Regions from separate parts of the Homo sapiens genome. Here regions 2, 3 and 4 are each linked to region 1. The links are contacts of gene promoters, found by promoter capture Hi-C in human tissues and cell types (Jung and others, 2019). All regions are on one chromosome and are shown on one strand. The core of a region is centred on a gene start or on the middle of the fragment in contact, and the rest is flanking DNA. Distances in the headings are between cores, read along the strand shown. Region 1 holds the start of ZFR2 (zinc finger RNA binding protein 2). Region 2 holds the start of TMIGD2 (transmembrane and immunoglobulin domain containing 2). Region 3 holds the start of SHD (Src homology 2 domain containing transforming protein D). Region 4 has its middle 13 kb from the start of MAP2K2.

Region 1 (3,017 bases), core at 309-2,808:
TATTTGTTTATTCATTCAATTCTTTCTCTCTCTCTCTCTCTCTCTCTTCTTTCCTTCCCTTCCCTCCCTCCCTGCTCCTCTCCCTCTCCTCTTTTATTATTTATTTATTTATTTTTTTATTTTTTATTTTTTTATTTTTTTGAGACGGTGTATTGCTCTGTTGCCCAGGCTGGAGTACAGTGGTGTGATCTCGGCTCGCTGCATCCTCCACCTCCTGGGTTAGGTAATTCTCCTGCCTCAGCCTCCCGAGTAGCTGGGATTACAGGTGTGCCCCACCACGCCTGGCTAATTTTTTTTTTTGTATTTTTAGTAGAGACAGGGTTTTGCCATGTTGGCTAGGCTGCTCTTGAACTCCTGACCTTGGGTGAGCTGCCCACCTCGCCTTCCCAAAGTGCTGGGATTACAGGCGTGAGCCACCACGCCCAGCCCTTTCTTTCTTTTCTCTTTTTTGAGACAGGGTCTCACTCTGGAGTGCAGTGGTACAGTCACAGATCACTGCAGCCTTGACAGCCCAGGCTCAAGTGATCCTCCCACCTTAGCCTCCTGAGTAGCTGGGACCACAGGCATGTACCACCATGACCAGCTAATTAAAAAAAAATTGTAGAAACAGGGTCTTGCTATGTTGCCCAGGCTAGTCTCAAAGTCCTAGGGCTCAAGATCCTCCTGCCTCCGCCTCTCAAAATGTTGGGATTACAGACGTGAGCCACTGTGCCCGGCCTATCATTTATTTATATCACGTTGTGAACACAGGAGGCAGAGACCATGGGGGCCTTCTGAAGAGTCATTCTGAGGCTAGATGCAGTGGCTCACGTCTGTAATCCCAGCACTTTTGGAGGCCAAGGCAAGATTATTTGAGGCCAGGAGTTCAACATCAGCCTGGGCAACATAGCAAGACACTGTCTCTACAAAAAATTTAAAAATTAGCTGGCTGTGGTGGTGGTGGGGCTTGAGCAGAGACCTCCACATCTGAGTGGTTAAAGAGAAGGTGGGGCTCGGAGACAGAGGTAGGGCTTGTGCAGAGACCATATCTGAGCAGGTAAAGGGAAGGCGGGGCTCCGAGAAAGAGGCGGGGCTTGTGGCATGGGTGGGGCTTGAGCAGAGACCTCCACACCTGAATGGTTAAAGGGAAGGTACGGTTCCAAAAAAAGGCGGGGCTTGTGGCATGGGTGGGGGTTGAGCAGAGATCACATCTGAGTGGGTAAAGGGAAGGCAGGGCTCTGAGTAAGAGGCGGGGCTTGTAGCATGGGCGGGACTTGATCAGATACCACCACATCTGAGTGGTTAAAGGGAATGTGGGGCTCCGAGAAAGAGGCAGGGCTTCTAGCATGGGCGGGGCTTGAGCAGAGACCTCCACATTTGAGTGGTTAAGAGGAGGGCGGGGCTCTGCGTAGGAGGCGGGGCCTCGGGGCAGGTGTGGTCGCGGGGCGGTGTCTCCCTAGCCTAAGAGAAGGAAGCGAGAAGGTGAGGGCTTCGCGCAGGGGGCGGAGCTTGGGGCGCGTGGCCAGGCGCGAGCGGCACGCGGCTCGGGGGCGGGGCGGGTGACGTCGCGGGTCCGCCAGGCTCGGGGAAGACGCCAAGATGGCGACGAGTCAGTATTTCGACTTCGCGCAGGGCGGCGGCCCGCAGTACAGGTAACTGCCCCGCCGCGCCAGCCCCCGCCAGTCCCGGCCCCTGCAGCCTGGCCGGGACCCCGCCTACCCCTTCTCCCGCCGCGTGCGCCCGGCCCGGCCCCAGTCCCAGCCCCAACCTGGAACCCCGGCCTGAGGGAAGCCGCGGCGCCGGGAGAAGCAGGCGGGGCGGCCTCAGGTTAGGCACCGGGCGGGATGCGGGCTCCGGGGCTCCGGCTGAGACGTCTCTGCAGCCAACGGTGTCTGTCGGCGGGAGCGGGAGGGGGCTCCTGAAGTGGGAGGGGGCCTGGGTTTGGGCCTGGGCCTGTGCGGGGTCGGGGGGGTCAGCCCCTGATGGGGGCGCCACGAGGAGGGCAGCGAGAGGGGACAGACCCGGGCGGGGGGTGGGTGGTCTGACCGAGGAGGGGAGGGGACGGAACTGACCCAATGCAGGGAGGAGACCTGGGAGGTGCCTGGCCGGGGAGTGGGTGGGGATGGGCAGAGGGGAGCTGACCCCTGATTGCTGGTAGGGGAAGAGAAGACACAGACCTAGGAGGGTGTCTGGCTGGGCAGGAGGAGGGGAAGGGCAGAGGGGCATTGACCCCCGATTGCGGGGGGAGGAGAAGACACAGACCTGGGAGGGTGCCTGGCCGGGCAGGGGGATGGACAGAGGGTAGCTGACCCCCGATTACTTGTAGGGGAGGAGAAAACAGAGATCAGCGAGGGTTCCTGGCTGGGCAGGAGGAAGCCACAGTCGAGGGGTGAGGAATTGGCCCCTGATGGGGGTAAGAGAGAAGACAGAAACCTGGGAGGGTGTCTGGCTGGACAGGGGGAGAGCTAGAGCGGAGCTGACCCCGATTGCTGGTAGGGGGAGAGAATTCAGACCTGGGAGGGTGTCTGGCTGGGCAGGAGGAGGGGAAGGGCAGAGGGGCGTTAATCCCCGATTGCTGGAGGAGGAGAAGGCAGAGACCTGGGAAGTTTCCCGACTGGGCAGGGGGCAGCAACATTCGAGTGTGGAGGGCACTGACCCCTGATGGTGGGGGTAGGAGAGAAGGCAGAGACCTGGGAGGGTACCTAGCAGGCAGGGGCAGAGACCTGGGGTGGGGTGTGGAGTAGGGGTGGGAACCTGACCCCTGATGTGGGGTGGAGGAGAGAAGACAGAGACCTGGGAGGTTACCCCAGGGAGGGGCGGAAACCGAGGTTGGTGGGGAACTGAGGCCTGACTGGGGAAGGGGGACAGAGACTTGGCGGGAAGCCAGTATTATGTGGGAGGAGGTCCTGAGGTCAAATAAGAGGGTGGGCACCTGGGTTTCCAGGGAACTGGGACCCTGCTGGGACAGTGAGGAGGGAGAAAGGGCCCTGAGTGTTGTGATATTTAAGATCCTTTTCTAGGTCTTAAATATGTGGTCG
Region 2 (3,017 bases), core at 357-2,856, 430 kb before region 1:
GAACCTCCCTGTGGTGGAGGGGAACGCTGTGTACGATGCAGGCCTTCTAGGTCCGAGTGAGAAAGGAGGTCACTCTGCAGTTGGGTCTGAGACATTGAGGTCTGTGGGTTCGCCACCTCCTCCCAGAATGCACTACAGAATCAGGGGTGAGGGATGCAGGGCTGGGAGGAACTCGAGAGCCCATGAACCTCCTCCACGGGACCCCCAAGCAGGTCATGTAATAGGACCCAAAGTTATCAACAGAAATCTATTTCTCTGAACCTCAAAGGAAGATTTTTTAAATTATTATTATTATTTTTTTTTAGAGACGGACTCACTCTGTTGCCCAGGCTGGAGTAACGGGGCGCAATCATGGCTTACTGCAGCCTCCAACTCCTGGGCTCAAGCGGTTCTCCTGCCTCAGCCTCCCGAGTGGCTGGGACTATAGGCATGCACCATCACCCTGGGTTGGTTTTGTATCTTTTTTTTTTTTTTTGAGACACAGTCTCACTCTGTCGCCCAGGCTGGAGTGCAGTGGCAGGATCTCGGCTCCCTGTAATCTCCATCTCCCCAGTTCTGGCGATTCTCCTGCCTCAACCCCACTGAGTAGCTGGGACTACAGGCGCCCACCACTAGGCCCAGCTAATTTTTGTATTTTTAGTAGAGACCGGGTTTTGCCATGTTGGCTAGGCTGGTCTTGAACTCCTGACCTCAGGTGATCCACCCGCCTTGGCCTCCCAAAGTGCTGGGATTACAGGCCTGGGCCACCATGCCCAGCCTGTATCTTTTTTTTTTTTTTTTTTTTTTTAATAGAGATTGGATCTCGCTGTGTTACCCCAGGTTGATCTTAAACTCGGCTCAAGTGATCCTCCCACCTCAGCCTCACAAAGTGCTGGGATTACAGGTGTGAGCTACAGCGCCCAGCAAAAGAAAGACATTTTGGGAGCAAAATAATTGAGGCAGGGACCCTGTCATTTAACTCACTGCTCAGGCCTATGTCGCCTGCCCCTCCCCCACGGAGCCACCTGCTCTCGCACTGTGTCTTCCTGTACCTAGATGTGTTTATGTAGAGCCTTCCAGAAAGCTCACAGGGGTGGATTCCTCCCACTCACTTGCATACACTGCCTTTCTTTTCTTTTTTTCTGAGACGGAGTTTCACTCTTGTCGCCCAGGCTGGAGTGCAGTGGCGTGATCTTGGCTCACTGCAACCTCCGCCTCCCGGGTTTAAGCCATTCTCCTGCCTCAGCCTCCCAAGTAGCTGGGATTATAGGCGCCCATCACCATGTCCAGCTAATTTCTGTATTTTTAGTAGAAATTAGTAGGGGTTTCATCATGTTGGCCAAGCTGGTCTCGAACTCCTGACCTCAGGTGATCCACCTGCCTCGGCCTCCCAAAGTGCTGGGATTACAGACATGAGCCATGTTGCCTGGTCCGTACACTGCCTTTCAGATAGAAAATGCATTGGGGAAACTGAGGCACGAGGTGGCAGGAAGTGGAGCCCCCAGCAGGCTGGAACACCGGACGTCTGTTGTCTGGCCCTGGGTGTTGCATCTGCTTCTGCAGCGGGAGGCGGAGATTGTGGCAGGAAGTCTGTCAACTGGGAGGGGGAGAGGGGGGTGATGGGCCAGGAATGGGGTCCCCGGGCATGGTGCTGGGCCTCCTGGTGCAGATCTGGGGTGAGTATCTGGGCCTCCCTCCCCTCTGAACCCCACTCTTGCTGTCATCCCCAGCTGCCTGCCCCCCAGCTCAGGGCCCCTCTAAACTTCAGTCTCTCTACTGTCAGATAAGGCCCATCTCCCTCCGAGACTCAGAACGTGATGGGGGCTGGAGGATTAAGGAAGGATCCTCTGAGGGCCCCTAGGATACAATCTAAACCTTGCCCTACATACCAGCCTGGCCTGGCCTCTCTCATCTCCACCCTCCGCAGTGCCTTTGCTCCCTCCCTCTTGCTCTAGCCTGGGGACTTTTCTTTCTCTGTTTCCGCAATGGGAAGGCTGGATCTGGCCTTCGAGCCTTTGCACCTGCTGTTCCAGCTGCCTAATACCCTTCTCCAGATCTCATGTCTCTACCCTCCTCTGCAATTGCATCTCAAATGCCAGGAACTTCACATAACCTCAACTTCTCCGGGGGTCTAACAGACACGTCAGACTTCTCACAGCTAAAAGCAGACTTTCTACTCCGGCAGCAGCTCCCTCTGTGTTTCCAATTAAGGACAAAGGCTGCTGCCCTTCACACATTTCCTGGGGCGAAAACCTCCATTCCTCTTTCCCTCTCCTCTGATTCCAGCCGCTTGCACTTTTTTGTTGTTCATTTGTGTTTTTTTGTTTGTTTGTTTTGTTTTGTTTTGAGAAGGAGTCTTGCTCTGTCACCCAGGCTAGAGTGCAGTGACGCGATCTCGGTTGACTGCAACCTCTGCCTCCCAGGTTCAAGAGATTCTCCTGCCTCAGGCTCCCGAGTAGCTGGGACTGCAGGCGCGCGCCACTGCGCCTGGCTAATTTTTTTTGTATTTTTAGTAGAGACGGGGTTTCGCCATCTCGGCCAGGTGGGTCTCGAACTCCTGACCTCATGATCCACCCACCTTGGCCTCCCAAAGTGCTGGGATTACAGGCGTGAGCCACCGTGCCCAGTCATTTTTGTTTTTTAGAGATGGGTCTCACTATGTTGCCCAGGCTGGTCTTGAACTCCTGGCCTCAAGCAATCACCCAGTCTTGGCCACCCAAAGGGCTGGGATAACAGGCATGAGCCACCACACCCAACCAAGGTCTTTTTATTAAAACTTAAATTGGAGACTGAGGCAGGTGGATCACTTGAGGTCAGGAGTTCCAGACCAGCCTGGCCATGTTGGTGAAACCCCATCTCTACCAAAAATACAAAAATTAGCTGGGCGTGGTAGCGAGTGCCTGTAGTCCCAGCTACTCAAGAGGCTGAGCCACAAGAATCACTTGAACCTGGGAGGCAGAGGTTGCAATGAGCCGAGATCACACCACTGCACTCCCACCTGGGCAACAGAGTGAGACCCCATCTCAAAACAAAAACAA
Region 3 (3,017 bases), core at 213-2,712, 410 kb before region 1:
TGGTGAAACCAGTCTCTACTGAAAATACAAAAATTAGCCGGGTGTGGTGGCACACACCTGTAATCTCAGCTACTGGAGAGGCTGAGGCAGGAGAATCGCTTGAACCCCAGGAGGTGGAGGTTGCAATGAGCCGAGATCCCACCACTGCACTCCAGCCTGGGTGACAGGGGGAGACTGTCTCAAAATAAATAAATACATAAAAAGAACAGACTTCCCCAAGCAGGTGGAGGTCTGGAGGACTGGGAAGGGTCTGTCTGGTGCCCCAGTCCCCTCCTGTGATCACACATAAAATAAGCTCTCCACGATCCAGAGAGCCCATCCTGAGCCTCCCCTCCACCCAGTCTCCCCAGGCCACCCAGCCACGCACCTCCTCCCCGGGGCCGCCCAGAAGGGCCTTGGCTCTGGCCATATCCGCAGCCTCCACCTTGATGAGCCGGTGCTTGGGAGAACCATACTTGGCATCTCCGGGGTTCTTGGAGTCCCCAGGGCCCGCGGGGTCCGGCTCCAAGCGGCTCTCCGCGTCCTCATAGGGGTCCTCGAAGTCCAGGTTCTTCTGCGCGCGGTAGGCCCTCAGGATGTCGCTCTCGGTGTAGTCCGGGGTGGGCGGCTGCGGAGGGGGCCTCCGACCCCCAAAGCTCAGGTAGTCCCGTAGCCACTTGGCCATTTGGGCGCCTGTCACCCCAATCGGGCCACTGTCAGAGGGGCCCCCACATGCCCTTCTCCGGGCCCCTTTCCCCAAGGAGGAGGAGGAGGTGGAGAGGAAGGGAAGAGCAGGGAAGGATGAGAAAGATCAGGTGCGCCCTTTGGCGGGGCTCTGGATGGATAGAGGGAAGGAAAAGGTGAACGAGGGGGAGGAAAAGGAGGCGACAGAGGAGGGAGGAAGAGAAGCCCGCCTTAGCCCAGCTTGGGAAGCACCGCGGGGGAAGGGGGGACCTCGCAGGGCCCCGAACCCCGCGCGCTGGGGGCTAGGGCGAGGGGCATCCGCGGAGGCGCGCGGAGTTTCCGCGGGCAGCGCGGTTCCCTGGAGCGACACGGCCGCCCGCCGCCTCCAGGAAGCTCCGGGATCCCTTCCTGGGGTCGGGAGATCCGGGCCAGCGCCACCTGCGGACGCTCCCGGCCCCTCTCCCAGCCCGGACGCCTGGGTTCTCAGCGCAGCGGGCGGGCTCCCCAGGGGCGCGGGCGCCGCGCGCAAAGTTGGGCCGCGGAGACTGTGACCCCGGCGGGACGCATCCTTTGTCGCGCTCCTCTCGGCTCAGCGGGGAGCCCCCAGTCCCGCGGCCCCCGCCGCCTCGATCCGGCCCCAGCCACCCGCACAAAGGGAAATAAAAACCTCCTCCAATCCCCCTTCACGCTTTCGGAGAGACTTTCCCCGCCGCCGCCGGGAGGTGGGACGCTGGGGAGGGGGGCGCGCAGGAGGACGCCCCTGTTCCCACCAGCCCCGGGCCGCGTCCCGGGCAGCAGCGTCAAGGCTCCCCCACCTCCCCTCCGCCGCGTCCCCCGCCCCTCCCCTCCCCCTGCGCTCCCCTCGGAGGTGACTGAGACCTTCAGCTGTTCTGGGGAGGGAGGGAGCCGCTGCCCGCGGAGGGAAGGGGGGCTGGGGGCGGGAGTCGCCGGGGCCGAGGCCGCGGCAGCTGGACACTGACCGGGACGCCCGAGACTGGCCGCAGCGAGCGCGGAGCGCGGGAGGTGGGGAGCAGCTGGGAGTGACACTGCTGGGGAGGGGAGGGGAGAGGGAGAAGGAGGGGAGGGGGAAATTGCCCGGGAAATGGGGGACTGCACTTGACCGCCAAAAGGGGTGAAATTGACCAGCAGAGGGGGTGGGAATGACCGCCAGTGAGGGTCGAAATGGAACCGATGTCTGGCGGTGAAACGGACCGGGAGAGTGGGGATGTGCAAATTGGTGGAGAGGTCACTGGCTGAAATTGATATTGGAGCAGCAGAAGGAAGAGGGGGGCAAAGGAAGGGTGGGTGCGGATCGGGCTTCCCCTCCCCCAAGAGGGCTCTGCTCTGTGCCCCGCTCCCGCCCCAGAGGACTAATTGCGGGCAGGGGGAGGGTTGGGGGCAGCTGGCTTGGGGAAGGGAGATGGTATCTGTGCCTGGCGCCTGTCCTCTGCATCTGTCCTTTTGTGGCTTCTGGGGGCGGGGTGGGGGGGAGCGGTGGCGGGAAGAGGGGCAGAAGTGAGAGGGGTCTGGCCTGAACTGGCTGCCTGTTGTCAGCTGTCGTTGTCTGAGGGTGAGGGCACTGAGAGGTTTGGGGGGTGGGAGAGGAAAAGGGAGCCACTGGCCAATTTTCCAGTGCAGAACCGTTTTTTTTCTTTCCCCATAAGGGGGCTTGCCCAGTTCCTCCTAATGAGGGGAGTGAGAGAGGGGTGGTCAGGAAGGATGGGACCCCAGATTCTCTCCTCTTGTGGCCAGCCCCCTGGTCAGGCACAGGTCATAGCTTGGAGAGCACAGTTGGAGGACAAGACAGAAGTCAGAACCAACACTGCTATGACTGGGGCCTCCTGGCAGCCCGGCGGGGCTGAGGGCAGGGTCTGTCACTCCCTGAGTCTTGGTTTTCCTTATTTGAAAGATGTGGTTTCTAACAGGAAATCCCAGACAGCTCTAGGAAGGATTCCAGGAGGGACCGAGCTATCACCTGGCTTCCTCATTTTATGGATGGGGAAACCGAGGCACAGAGATGGGAGGGACTTGTTCAGAGCCACTCCACAGCTGATTCTGCCTGCACATCGCCGTGGGGCCTGGCCTAGGGTGGCACTGGAGTCTCTCTTTTTATTTTTTTGAGACGGAGCCTTGCTCTGTCCTCCAGGCTGGAGTGCCGTGTTGCGATCTCAGCTCACTGAAACCTCCACCTCCCAGGTCCAACCAATTCTCCTGCCTCAGCCTCCTGAGTAGCTGGGATTACTGCCACCACGCCCAGCTAATTTTTATATAATTTTATATTTTTAGTAGAGATGGGGTTTCACCACATTGGCCAGGCTGGTCTGGAACTCCTGACCTCAGGTGATCTGCCGGCC
Region 4 (3,017 bases), core at 300-2,799, 270 kb before region 1:
TGTCTTGGCCTCCCAAAGTGCTGGGATTACAGGCGTGAGCCATCATGCCCGGCCTTTATTTTTAATTTTTAGACAAGGTTTCACTATGTTGCCTTGGCTAGCCTGGAACTCCTGGACTCAAGTGATCCTCCCACCTCAGCCTCCCAAAGTGCTGGGATTACAGGCATGAACCACTGCACCTAAGCTCCTTCCCCACTTTTTTCATCTCTGTGGCTCTTCCTGGCATCTTATCTGTGGCCTATTTCTCCCCCAGACTGTAAACTCTGTGAGGGCAGGGGTTTTGTCTCATCCAATGCCTGGCACTTAGTAGGGTTTCAATAAAAATGTGTCAAATCAATGAACCTTAAGAAAAGTGACTCACAGTAGTTTGATAATAAAGAACATGGCTGGCCGGGTGCGGTGGCTCACGACTGTAATTCCAGCACTTTGGGAGGCCGAGGGGGGGCGGATCACAAGGTCAGGAGATTGAAACCATCCTGGCTAACACGGTGAAACCCCGTCTCTACTAAAAATACAAAAAAAAATTAGCCAGGCGTGGTGGCAGGTGCCTGTAGTCCCAGCTACCTGGGAGGCTGAGGCAGGAGAATGGCGTGAACCCAGGAGGCGGAGCTTGCAGTGAGCCGTGATCTCGCCACTGCACTCCAGTCTGGGTGACAGAGCGAGACTCTCTGAAAAAACAAAACAAAACAAAACAAAACAAAACAAAAAAAGAACAAGGCCAAAAGCAAAACAAAACAAAACAAACAAACATGACCATGTTTCATGTCCCAAATGCCTCCCAATATAATCACAGCCTGTATTGCGGTGGGCAAATTAGAGCCCACAGCTCACTGCCTATTGTTGTACAGCCTGAGTTAAAAACTGATTTTATGGCCGGGGCATGGTGGCTCCCGCCTGTAATCCCAGCACTTTGAGGGGCTGAGGTGAGAGGATTGCTTGAGCACAGGAGTTCAAGATCAGCCTAGGCAACACAGGGAGTCCCTGTCTCTACAAAAAATTTAAAAATTAGCCAGGCATGGTGGGAAGTGCCCGTAGTCCAGGCTACTCAGGGGCTTGAGGTGGGAGGATCACCAGAGCCAAGGAGTTGGAAGCTGCGGTGAGCTATGACTGCACCACCGCACTCCAGCCTGGGTGCCAGGTGAGATCCTGTCTCTAAAAAATTTGTTTTAAATTATTTTATTGCCAGCATAATAGGTCACGCCTATAACCTCAGCACTTTAGGAGGCCAAGGTGACAAGATAGCTTGAGCCCAGGAGTTTGAGATCAGCCTGGGAAACAAAGTGAAACCTGTCTCTACAAAAAGTTTAAAAATTAGCAGGGCATGGTGGCACATGCCTGTGGTCTCAGCTACTTGGGAGGCTAAGGTGAGAGGATCACTTAAGCCCAGGAATTAGAGGCCGTGGTGAGCTATGATCATGCCACTGCACTCCAATTTGAGTGACAGACACCCTGTCTTTCTAAAAAAAGAAAAGTGAAGGCCGGGCGCGGTGGCTCATGCCTGTAATCCCAGCACTTGGGAGGCCGAGGTGGGCAGATCACGAGGTCAGGAGATCGAGACCATCCTGGTTAACATGGTGAAACCCCGTCTCTACTAAAAACACAAAAAATTAGCCGGGCGTGGTGGCGGATGCCTGTAGTCCCAGCTACTCGGGAGGCTGAGGCAGAAGAATGGCGTGAACCCGGGAGGCGGAGCTTGCAGTGAGCCGAGATTGCACCACTGCACTCCAGCCTGGGTGACAGAGTGAGACTCCGTCTCAAAAAAAAAAAAAAAAAGAAAAGAAAAGAAAAAAAGAAAAGTGGAAACTGAGGCTCAGAGGGTTGAAATGAGTTTCTCAAGACCCCATGTTTCTGCGAGATTCCCTATTTACCAAATTCTCCAAACAGGACCTCAAATTCCTCACAGGAAGTGCAGAGATCACATTGACAAATCAATAATTCCATAAATTGCATGTCAGAGAGAGCGCTGCACACACCCATTTGATCTTGCTAAGCCTGGGAAATTTTTAATTGCCCCTGTTTAAAAAAAAAAAAGTCATTGCACTTTCTAGAACCTTGGGTTTGGAACTTTGCTCAGAGTGATTTCGACATGTTGTGAAAACCTCATTTTAACTTTATCTTTCTTCCAGGCATTTCACTTCAATCAGAACTTGGTAAGGCCGGGCGCGGTGGCTCACGCCTGTAATCCTAGCAATTTGGGAGGTGGAGGTGGGCGGATCACCTGAGGTCAGGAGTTTGAGACCAGCCTGGCCAACATGGCGAAACCCCATCTCTACTAAAAATACAAAGATTAGCCGGGTTTGGTGGCACATGCCTGTAATCTCAGCTGCTCGGGAGGCTGAGGCAGGAGAATCGCTTGAACCCAGGAGGCAGAGGTTGCAATGAGCCGAGATCATGCCACTGCACTCCAGCCTGGGCAACAGAGCGAGACTCTATCTCAAAATATAATAATAATAAAAATAAATAAATAAATCATGGGAAAGCGAAAAAATACATTTTATGTGTTTTCCTTCCCTCCCGCAATTAAACCCCTTTCATTTTCCCATGTTCTCTCGCAGTTCCCATTCATCTGCACAAATCTTTGATTGCAGAGCGATAAAATAAATGTCATCATGAGCATCCATCGGCCAGGACGTGGCACAAAGTCATAAAACAACTCTAGGCTGGGCACAGTGGCTCACTCCTGTAATCCCAGCACTTTAGGAGGCCGAGGCAGGTGCATCACAAGGTCAAGAGATCAAGACCATCCTGGCCAACATGGTGAAACCCTGTCTCTACTAAAAATACAAAAAATTAGCCAGGCGTGGTGGCATGTGCCTGTAGTCCCAGCTACTCGGGAGGCTGAGGCAGGAGAATCACTTGAACCCAGGAGGCGGAGGTTGCAGTGAGCCGAGATTGCGCCACTGCACTCCAGCCTGGCGACAGAGTGAGACTCCATCTCAAAAAAAAAAAAAAAAAGAAAGAAACTCTAGAAACCAGCTGGGTGTGGTGGCTCATGCCTGTCATCCCAGCACTTTGGG

Evidence for each region. The method cuts DNA at HindIII sites, captures the fragments that hold promoters and counts their contacts. A contact is called where the count stands out against the background at its distance.
Region 2: a contact is called between the fragment with the promoter of TMIGD2 here and the fragment with the promoter of ZFR2 in region 1, in 3 of the 25 tissues and cell types used here (lymphoblastoid cells, pancreas and stomach).
Region 3: a contact is called between the fragment with the promoter of SHD here and the fragment with the promoter of ZFR2 in region 1, in 2 of the 25 tissues and cell types used here (liver and spleen).
Region 4: a fragment that was not itself captured here is called in contact with the fragment with the promoter of ZFR2 in region 1 in 1 of the 25 tissues and cell types used here (stomach).

The regions. Positions count from the first base shown.
Region 1 is chr19:3,867,579-3,870,595 of GRCh38, reverse strand. ZFR2 (zinc finger RNA binding protein 2) reads left to right here and starts at 1,558. Exons shown (of 19, transcript NM_015174.2): 1 at 1,558-1,631. The coding sequence starts at 1,579. The HindIII fragment of the contact is 14,046 bases long and covers 1-3,017 here.
Region 2 is chr19:4,300,978-4,303,994 of GRCh38, reverse strand. TMIGD2 (transmembrane and immunoglobulin domain containing 2) reads left to right here and starts at 1,606. Exons shown (of 5, transcript NM_001169126.2): 1 at 1,606-1,655. The coding sequence starts at 1,610. RefSeq lists an enhancer at 1,600-2,145. The HindIII fragment of the contact is 29,023 bases long and covers 1-3,017 here.
Region 3 is chr19:4,277,711-4,280,727 of GRCh38, reverse strand. SHD (Src homology 2 domain containing transforming protein D) reads right to left here and starts at 1,462. Exons shown (of 6, transcript NM_020209.4): 1 at 368-1,462. The coding sequence starts at 664. The HindIII fragment of the contact is 14,506 bases long and covers 1-3,017 here.
Region 4 is chr19:4,135,894-4,138,910 of GRCh38, reverse strand. No RefSeq gene overlaps it. Among named protein-coding and RNA genes, the nearest start is that of MAP2K2, 13 kb to the right of the region's middle. The HindIII fragment of the contact is 7,667 bases long and covers 1-3,017 here.